3 separate regions of the Homo sapiens genome follow, and regions 2 and 3 are each linked to region 1. The links are contacts of gene promoters, found by promoter capture Hi-C in blood cells and fetal thymus (Javierre and others, 2016). All regions are on one chromosome and are shown on one strand. The core of a region is centred on a gene start or on the middle of the fragment in contact, and the rest is flanking DNA. Distances in the headings are between cores, read along the strand shown.

Region 1 (2,700 bases), core at 25-2,524:
GCTGGGATTACAGGTGCACACCACCACACCCAGCTAAATTTTTGTATTTTTAGTAGAGATGGGGTTTCATTATGTTGGCCAGACTGGTCTTGAACTCCTGACCTCTTGATCCGCTCAACTCAGCCTCCCAAAGTGCTGGGATTATAGGCGTGAGCCACCGCGCCCGGCCAATGTTAGCTATTATTAATGGACAATTATGACTAATTATGAAGTACTTTCTTTTAAAAGCCTAGATCTCTAAGTAATGTCTTCCTCCCTCAGTCCTCAGCACCCGCCTGGTCGGGCATTGGGTCTCACCAAGCTACAGAGCCCTAGGTGCGCTGTGTTAGGTCACCAAGACTTTAGTCTGGTGATACTGACCCCAGGGCCCCAAATCACCATGTCTGCAAGTCTGGAACCCAAAGGCCTCCGTTCCCCGGGGTGGTGCAGGGAAGCCGCAGGGAGTGCGTCAGCTGTGGAGAGCGTAGGGGTGGGAAGTGAAGGCTGTGGGGTCCCCCAGGGGGTCAGGTTCGTCCTCGAAGGCAGGCCCTCCACAGGAAGACCTGGTTGGGGTGGGATCGGACACGCGGCCCAGACCCAGGCACCTGTGGATGGACGGCCGGGCATGTGGCCATCGGCTGGGGGCCTCTGCAGGCCGCGCCACCAGAGTGGGCACTCAGGGTCCGCAAGGGTCTGGGGCGCCCCCAGAGAAGCCCGCCGCCCCAGGCCGGTGCGGAGTTGACTGGGTCCCCCCGGCCCCGTGTCTGTCAGCTCCCGCGCGGCCCCTGGGAAGGGACGCGGATCGGATGCGGGCTCCGGGCCCTGCAGGCAGTTGAGAGCGCGGTTCCCTTGGGTATCCGGGGTCCGGGGTCACTTTCGCGCCTCCGCACTATTCCCACGCCCGCGCGCACTCTCGTGGCCATCCGCGTTGCGAGAGTGTCGCGCCCGGAGGTCAGGGGCGTGGAGCCCGGGCCCCCGAGTCTCCCCTGCGTGCGGCGGGGCGCGGGGCGCGGGGCGCGGGGCGCAGGGCTGAGGCGGAGCACAATGGTTGAATGAATGAATGAACGAACGAATGAACGGCGCTGCAGAGCCCTCTCCAGGCGGAATGAAAGTGCAAACCCAGCGTTTCGGGCGGCAGAGTGGCGGGGGCCACCTGGCGCGGCCGCGCGGCCAGGGTCCGGTTTCGCTTCCTCCCAGCCCGGGGGCGGGGCCTGCGTGGCTGTCCCCGCCCCGGTCCGCCCCCGGCCAGCCCCCGGCGCCGCGCGGAACTCGCGGGTTCGGAGCCGCCCGCTGAGGTCAGAAGGAGGCGTCTGCGCTGATCGGGTCCGCCGCGCGCCAGAGCCAGAGTCGCAGCCGAGGGGAGCCGGGGCCGGAGCCCGAGCCCGAGCCGAGCCGGAGCCCGAGCGAGCGGCGGAGACCGTGCCCCCGCCTCGGCCCCGCGCCGCCGCGGCCAGGCCCGGCATGGAGGAGGAGTGCCGGGTGCTCTCCATACAGAGCCACGTCATCCGCGGCTACGTGGGCAACCGGGCGGCCACGTTCCCGCTGCAGGTACGCATCCGCCCGCAGCCCGGGCTTACGTAACCCGAGCCCGTGACCTTGGCGGGGCTGCCCGAGACGAGCCTCAGTTCCCCGAGGGAGGCTCGGGAGCTGCGGGCAGAGCCTGGCGCGGGCGCCCTGGAGGCAGGCGCGGGATGAGCCTCCCGCTCTGCTTGGCTTGCGGGGGCGGAAGCGGAGGGCTGAGCGCTCTGCGGGCCCCTGCGGGTGGGACGGGTCCGGCGTCGGGGTACGCGGGTAGGAGGGAGCCCTGTGCACCAGCTATGGCGCAGCCGCTCGTCCTCGCCCCTTCCCGCCGACCGGGCCAACTGCCGCGGGGGCGGGCGGGCGGTGCGGCTCCCGGAGGCGAGGAAATGTCGCAGAGCCCCGAGGAGTCCCGGAGCAGTCACGCGAGCCGGGACCTTGCCCCGCTGGAACGCAGAAGCGGCCGTGGAGCTCGAGACGCTCGCGCGCTCACCTCCTGGGCCCCTGTGCGTGGGGAAGTCAGGAAGAAGACGCCGAGTGAGGTCACGGTGCCCACGAGGGTGGATTCCCCTCGGCCTGACCACGCCAGGAGGTGGCCGAAGGGAAGAGGGTGGGGCAGGGGCTGCTCTGCACCCTCTAGCAGAGCGGCATCCCTGCAGGTGTTTGCTCTGACGAGGAGAAGCCCCAGAGAGCAGTTCGGGACTGTGCGGATTGGCTTTAGGGAGCCAGCTTTTAAAACGCGTTGGCCCACGGCCTCCTGGTTGCAGCTAAGTGGCCCGTGGAGGGGTAGGAGAGGCCTGGGTGCAGTGGCGTGGGTGTCACGCAGGGCCGAGGCAGAACCAGGACGACGGGCACTTCCTGGCCTTGTCGAGTCAGCAGGAGGGCTGGGGGTGCCCTGCCGGGTCGTGCTCTCCTGTGCTGCCCACCTGCGGCCTGGTCACTGGGGACGGGAGCAGGTATGCCTGGTCCCTGTGCTGGGCCCCACGGGATGTAAAGAAGGGCCACCTGGGCACGGCGGGGCCTGCGGTGCGGGCTGGCCTGGGAGGAGGACAGGAAGAGGGGAGCAGAGCTTCAGTGGAATTTGAGGGCTGACCTAGGCGTGCCCCCAGGAGGACCAAGCTGAGCAGAGTTGAGCGTGGAAAGGCAGGGGGTTCGAGTCCGAAGTAAGTGGAGGTCCTGTTGGGAAGGATGCGGTGCTTCACA
Region 2 (2,700 bases), core at 60-2,559, 550 kb before region 1:
GGAGTGAGCCAGGTGCAGTGGCTCACGCCTGTAATCCTACACTTTGAGAGGCCAAGGCAGGTGGGTCACCTGAGGTCAAGAGTTTGAGACCAGCCTGGCCAACACGGTGAAACCCTGTCTCTACTAAAAATACAAAAATAATAATAATAATAATAATAATAATAATTAGCCAGGTGTGGTGGCAGGCACCTGCAGTCTCAGCTACTCAGGAGGCTGAGGTGGGAGAATTGTTTGAACCTGGGAGGCAGAGGTTGCAGTGAGCTGAGATCGCGCCACTATATGATCTGGGCGCCACTCTGGGTGACACAGCAAGACTCCATCTCAAAAACAAACAAACAAAACCGGGAGTGCCTGGACACTTAGTGAGAACTGGACAGGGGCCATGGGTCGAGGAGCAAAATAATCACCAGGACTTGTGGATAACAGGATCATGTGGGTGGTGGGTCCGCATGGGTGACAGGGACGTGGGGACATGTCGCCACCCTGACAGGAGCAGCCCAACTCAACAGCCACGGCAGGTCATGCCACGGAGGCTCGAGGCGTTACGTGGGGATGTTACATCAAGGCATTACATCATTACGAGATGTAACGCTCGAGGCGTTACATCGAGGGGACGATGGCCATGGGGCTGGGCGTCCAGGGTGGGCCGCAGAGGGAAGCTCACCACGTGGTGCTCTCATCTGCCCACAGCCCAGCCCGTCTTCCTGTTGGAGGCATGTGACCCCTGGAGGACAAGCATGAAACGCCATAGGGCTCCCCCAGGTGCTGGAATTATGGCACCTTGCAGCTTCTTCTCCACGAGTTTTAACAAGCATGCGTACTTTTGTAAGTGGTGAGTGTAACGGAGGTTCACAGATGCACTCCGCTTTGGAAACCAGTGCACTCTTGCCCAGGCCCGGTGAGACTCTGAGGACGATGTGTCTAACCTCTGTGTCTAACGGGGGTGTGTGCTCTCCCTCCTCTGGCGACCATGAGGACCACCCCGGCAGGACAAGGTGTGCAGAGAACTAGCATGGTCCCTGGCACGTAGCCCCTGCCCAGTGACTGGCAGATGAGAAGCTCCATTGTCGCCCCAGGCGAGTATGGGGCACAGGCGCCTCCTTGGGTTGTCTGCCCTCCCGGGAGCCCCAGGGTGCCCAGGCGGGCCTCAGCTGAGTCCAGGCCTCGGGGACAGTCCGTGCAGCCCCTCCTGGGGCTGGGGGCGGGCACTTGTCCCAGCCACGTTTCTGCTGACTGAGCAGCCTTCTTCATGAGCTCACGCCTTTCCAGAGAAATCCCTTAATGCCTCCATTCTGCTGGTGGCATATATAGGGAGGGCTCGGCCTTGGCTCCACACTGCGCTGCCCAGAGGCCCCGCTGACTCCTGCCAGCCTCCAGGTCCCCGTGGTACCAAAGCTGAACATGGACGTGACCATCCAGCACCCCTGGTTCAAGCGCACCCTGGGGCCCTTCTACCCCAGCCGGCTGTTCGACCAGTTTTTCGGCGAGGGCCTTTTTGAGTATGACCTGCTGCCCTTCCTGTCGTCCACCATCAGCCCCTACTACCGCCAGTCCCTCTTCCGCACCGTGCTGGACTCCGGCATCTCTGAGGTAAGACGTGGCCCGTGGTGCTGGCCTCTCCTCGCTGCTCAGAGGGTGGTGGCCTCGGTGGGTGGAGAGCGATGGACTCTGGTCTTGCTCCGTCAGGCAGGTGGCCTCGTCCCACTTCATCCCCTTGCAGAGGCTGGGCGAGAGCCTGTGTCCCCACTGCAGCCACGTGGCAGAGCTTCCCCTGGCACTGGGGAGAGGGTGGACAAGGGAGCAGCCTGAATCCACCTTTGCTTTCCTCCATCAGCTCATGACCCATGTGTGCTTTGTAAGGCACCAGCCACATACTGGAAACCCCAAGAGCAGCCCATCCAGGCATGCGTGGTGGCGAATGCCAGCTCCCGGGTTCCTCTGGTCTCCTGAGTCCCGGAGACCTGGGAGCAGGTGGGGGTCATAGTCCTGAAAGCCAGAGAGCAGGGCGTTCCTAGCACCTCCTCCAATGAGCTCGGCCTGCCCACGGCTAGCAAAGCTCTTGGCAAGTTTACTTAGGTGCCCTGCCAAGGCTAAAAGGACAGGCAATGGACGCCCCCCCCCCCACCCAACCACAGGCCTCCTCTCTGAGCCACGGGTGAGCGGTGCAGGTTCTGCTGTTCTGGAGGGCCTGAGTCCCACCCAGCACCTCATAAACAGGGTCCTCCCCAGGGCTGCTGCAGTAGGCATCAACGCCAGGGTGCAAAATGCCTCAGGGAGCCAAGGCTGAGCCAGGGGAGTGAGAAGGAGCATGTGGAAGTGCGTTTTGGAGAGGCAGCTGCGCAGGCTGTCAGCAGGCTCCGGCCGCTTCTATAGACAGCATGACACCAAGGGCAGTGACCTCATTCCACAGGCTGAGTCCAGCCAGCCAGCCAAGCATCACCAGCCAGACGATTGACCCTAACGGACCAACCAACCCGTAACGACCCCTCCTACCATAACCAGTAGCCAGCCAGCCCATAACCAGCCAACTTATCTATAACCAGCCACCTGACCATAGCCAAACAACCAGCCGGCCCACCAGTAGCATTCAGCCCCTCAGCTGGCCCTGAGGGTTTGGAGACAGGTCGAGGGTCATGCCTGTCTGTCCAGGAGACAGTCACAGGCCCCCGAAAGCTCTGCCCCACTTGGTGTGTGGGAGAA
Region 3 (2,700 bases), core at 161-2,660, 590 kb before region 1:
TCATGCAAGATAGGTTCTTACTCTGTCACCCAGGCTAGAGTACAGTGGCATGATCATGGCTCACGGCAGCCTTCTCCTCCCGAGGCTCAGGTGATTCTCCCACCTCAGCCTCCCGAGTGACTGAGACTACAGGCATGTACCACCATGCCTGGCTAATTTTTTTTGAATTTTTAGTAAAGGTGAGGTTTTGTCATGCTGCCCAGGCTGGTCTCAAACTCCTGGGCTCAAGCCATCTGCCCACCTCGGCCTCCCAAAGTGTTGTGATTACAGGCGCGAGCCAGTGCAGCCAGCTGGTTATTTCTCTATAGCAATGCAAGAATGGCTTAATACATCTCCCCTCCCCTACATGGGACAAGGCCATCTGATAATTAACCTTCCTAGCAACTCAGGACTAAGCTCCTGAACATAAAGGGAGCCAAAACAATTTGCATTTTTCTATGAGGCCTTCTTTGAAAGGTCTTGATGAAAAGGGGAGAAATGGGGAAAAAAATAGCACAGAGCAGTCTGAGCTATGTGAGGTGTGCCAAAGTTATCAGGCCCAGAGAGACAGGAGAGTGGGGCTTTTTGTTTTGTTTTTGTTTGAGACAACATAGTGAGAGCCTGTCTTTATAAAAAATTTTAAAAAATTATCCAAGCATAAGGGCATGTGCCTGTGGTCCCAGCTACTGAGGCAGGCTGAGGAGAGAGGATTGCTTGAATCTGGGAGGTTGAGGCTGCAGTAAGCTGTGATCACACCACTGCACTCCAGACTGGGTGACAGAGTGAGACCCTGTCTCAAAAAAAAAAAAAAAAAAAGAACCCACTGCTGCTAATTGGAGCATCTATTCAGGGGAACTTGAATCTAGGCTCCCAGGTGGCCATCCTTAAGCTTTGGGCTTGAATAAACTTTGTACTTAATCATATTTTCTAAATCTCATTATTTAAAGTCGAGAATTCATTCCTCCCTTCATCTGTTCATTCATATGTCTGTCCTTTCACCCACCAATCCGCTCATCTAGCCATCCACCCATTTGTCTGTTAGTCCGTCCATCCATCCATCCATCCATCCACTCACCCAGACATCCATCCATCCATCCATCTGTCCTTTCACCCACCCATTTATTCATCCATTCATCCATCCATCTATCCATCCCACTGAGTCATTCATCCATCTATCCATCCATCCATCTGTCCGTCCATCCATCTTATATTTTGGGGGGCATGTCTGATGTGTCAGATACTGTGGCAGGTGCACAGACACAAATTCGGAAGACAGATCTCCACTTAGAAGTGTGCCAGGCACCTCAGCTCAACATATCTCCAGCTGACTTCATTTTATCCTTCTCCTCCCATCTCTTGACGTTCTGTTCAAGCATTTAGTAAATGCCAGTCATCTATAGCCTGAGCCCACCTGGGTTGCCCTAAGTTGTCTGATTCACATCCATTCTAATTCCTTGGCTTCTCTCAACCATGTCTGCTCCTTTTCCTCCTCTTGGCCATTCCTGAGTGTACCTGGATCACTACAGCAGTATCTATGCTGTTTCCTCCTTTTCTAGGTGACCATTTGTCCTTCTGCCAGAGGGCTCTGTGGGAAATACAGATTCGATCCTGCTGTTTCTTACTGGGAACCCTCCATGGCTCCCAGTCCCTGGAATGTGCCGGGCAACTTTCAGCTCTTGGTCGTGGGAGCCTCCTGCCTGTGCACAGTGTGTTCTTCCAGGACCCATGCCCACTCCCTCCTTCCCAGCATTCCAGTTTGGCCCTTGAGGCCTCCTTGGAGTCATCCCCCTCCCAGATGTGCAATGCATTTTGGGTTCTCAACAGCTTCCCCTCCTTACCTGCAAAGGTTGAACAGACCTGGATCTGCTATCCTGCTTTGCCACTTCCTGCTGCATGACCTGCATTATGAAGTTCTCTAGACTCAGGGTTTCCATTGGCTAATAGGATCAGCCAACCTGCCTTTGAGGAGTGGACGAAGCTTGGCACTTAGTAGGTGCCCATGAGGCATCAGAAACTGCCCTTGTTGAATGATGCTCTAATGCGGTGTTGACATCTCTGTCCTACTAGACTGGGGTTGCTTTGAGGACTCCAATTCTGTCTTTTCATCCTGATTCCATGATGGAACAGACCCACAGGCCCTTGTCAGCATTCCAAAAAGCAAAAAGCTGTGAAAATGAAAAGGACTTTTTTTTTTTTTCTGTAAACTTGGTGCCAAAATTTGCAAAAGCTGACCTGACCCAAGGTGTTGGCAGCATCCCAACACTCCCTCTGTTACAGGCACCTCTGCTGGTTGCTGACAATGTATATGTTTTAATTTTTAAAATGCATTTGTCTTTTTGTGACCATGGGTTTAATTGCACTGTGAATTCATACAAAAAGGGTAGCATGTACCCAGTGCTCACTGTGGGAAGGACACATGGAAACACTCTCTTTGTCAATAGTGCAGAAAGCATCAGTGATGTTGGGAAGCCATCAAAAGACAAGCAGTTGGGCTGTGCGTGGTGGCTCATGCTTATAATCCTAGCACTTTGGGAGGCTGAGGTGGGAGGATTGCTTGAGGTCAAGAGTTCAAGACCAACCTGGCCAACATAGCAAGATCCCCTCTCTATTAAAAAAAAGACAAACAGTTGAAAATTTATAATAATTGTGATTACCAAGAGCCATTGAAATATGGAAAACACAGGGTCAGTGGGGTGTGGTGTAGGGAGAGAGATCTTGACC

The links. The method cuts DNA at HindIII sites, captures the fragments that hold promoters and counts their contacts. A CHiCAGO score of 5 or more calls a contact.
Region 2: the fragment with the promoter of CRYAA here is called in contact with the fragment with the promoter of PDXK in region 1 in 5 of 17 cell types (naive CD4 T cells, total CD8 T cells, M1 macrophages and 2 more); the score reaches 6.3 in naive CD4 T cells.
Region 3: a fragment that was not itself captured here is called in contact with the fragment with the promoter of PDXK in region 1 in 1 of 17 cell types (M1 macrophages); the score reaches 5.2 in M1 macrophages.

The regions. Positions count from the first base shown.
Region 1 is chr21:43,717,855-43,720,554 of GRCh38, forward strand. It overlaps PDXK (pyridoxal kinase), which reads left to right and starts at 1,275. Exons shown (of 11, transcript NM_003681.5): 1 at 1,275-1,527. The coding sequence starts at 1,441. It overlaps LOC124905032 (a long non-coding RNA gene), which reads right to left and starts at 694. Exons shown (of 2, transcript XR_007067896.1): 1 at 361-694. RefSeq lists enhancers at 577-626, 1,968-2,700 and silencers at 777-1,566, 1,607-1,916, 2,074-2,263. The HindIII fragment of the contact is 18,691 bases long and covers 1-2,700 here.
Region 2 is chr21:43,167,699-43,170,398 of GRCh38, forward strand. It overlaps CRYAA (crystallin alpha A), which reads left to right and starts at 1,310. Exons shown (of 3, transcript NM_000394.4): 1 at 1,310-1,590. The coding sequence starts at 1,402. The region is part of intron 1 of LOC107987300 (a long non-coding RNA gene); the gene reads right to left. The HindIII fragment of the contact is 23,635 bases long and covers 1-2,700 here.
Region 3 is chr21:43,126,843-43,129,542 of GRCh38, forward strand. All of the region lies in intron 3 of LOC101928369 (a long non-coding RNA gene), which reads left to right. Among named protein-coding and RNA genes, the nearest start is that of FRGCA, 13 kb to the right of the region's middle. The HindIII fragment of the contact is 1,089 bases long and covers 867-1,955 here.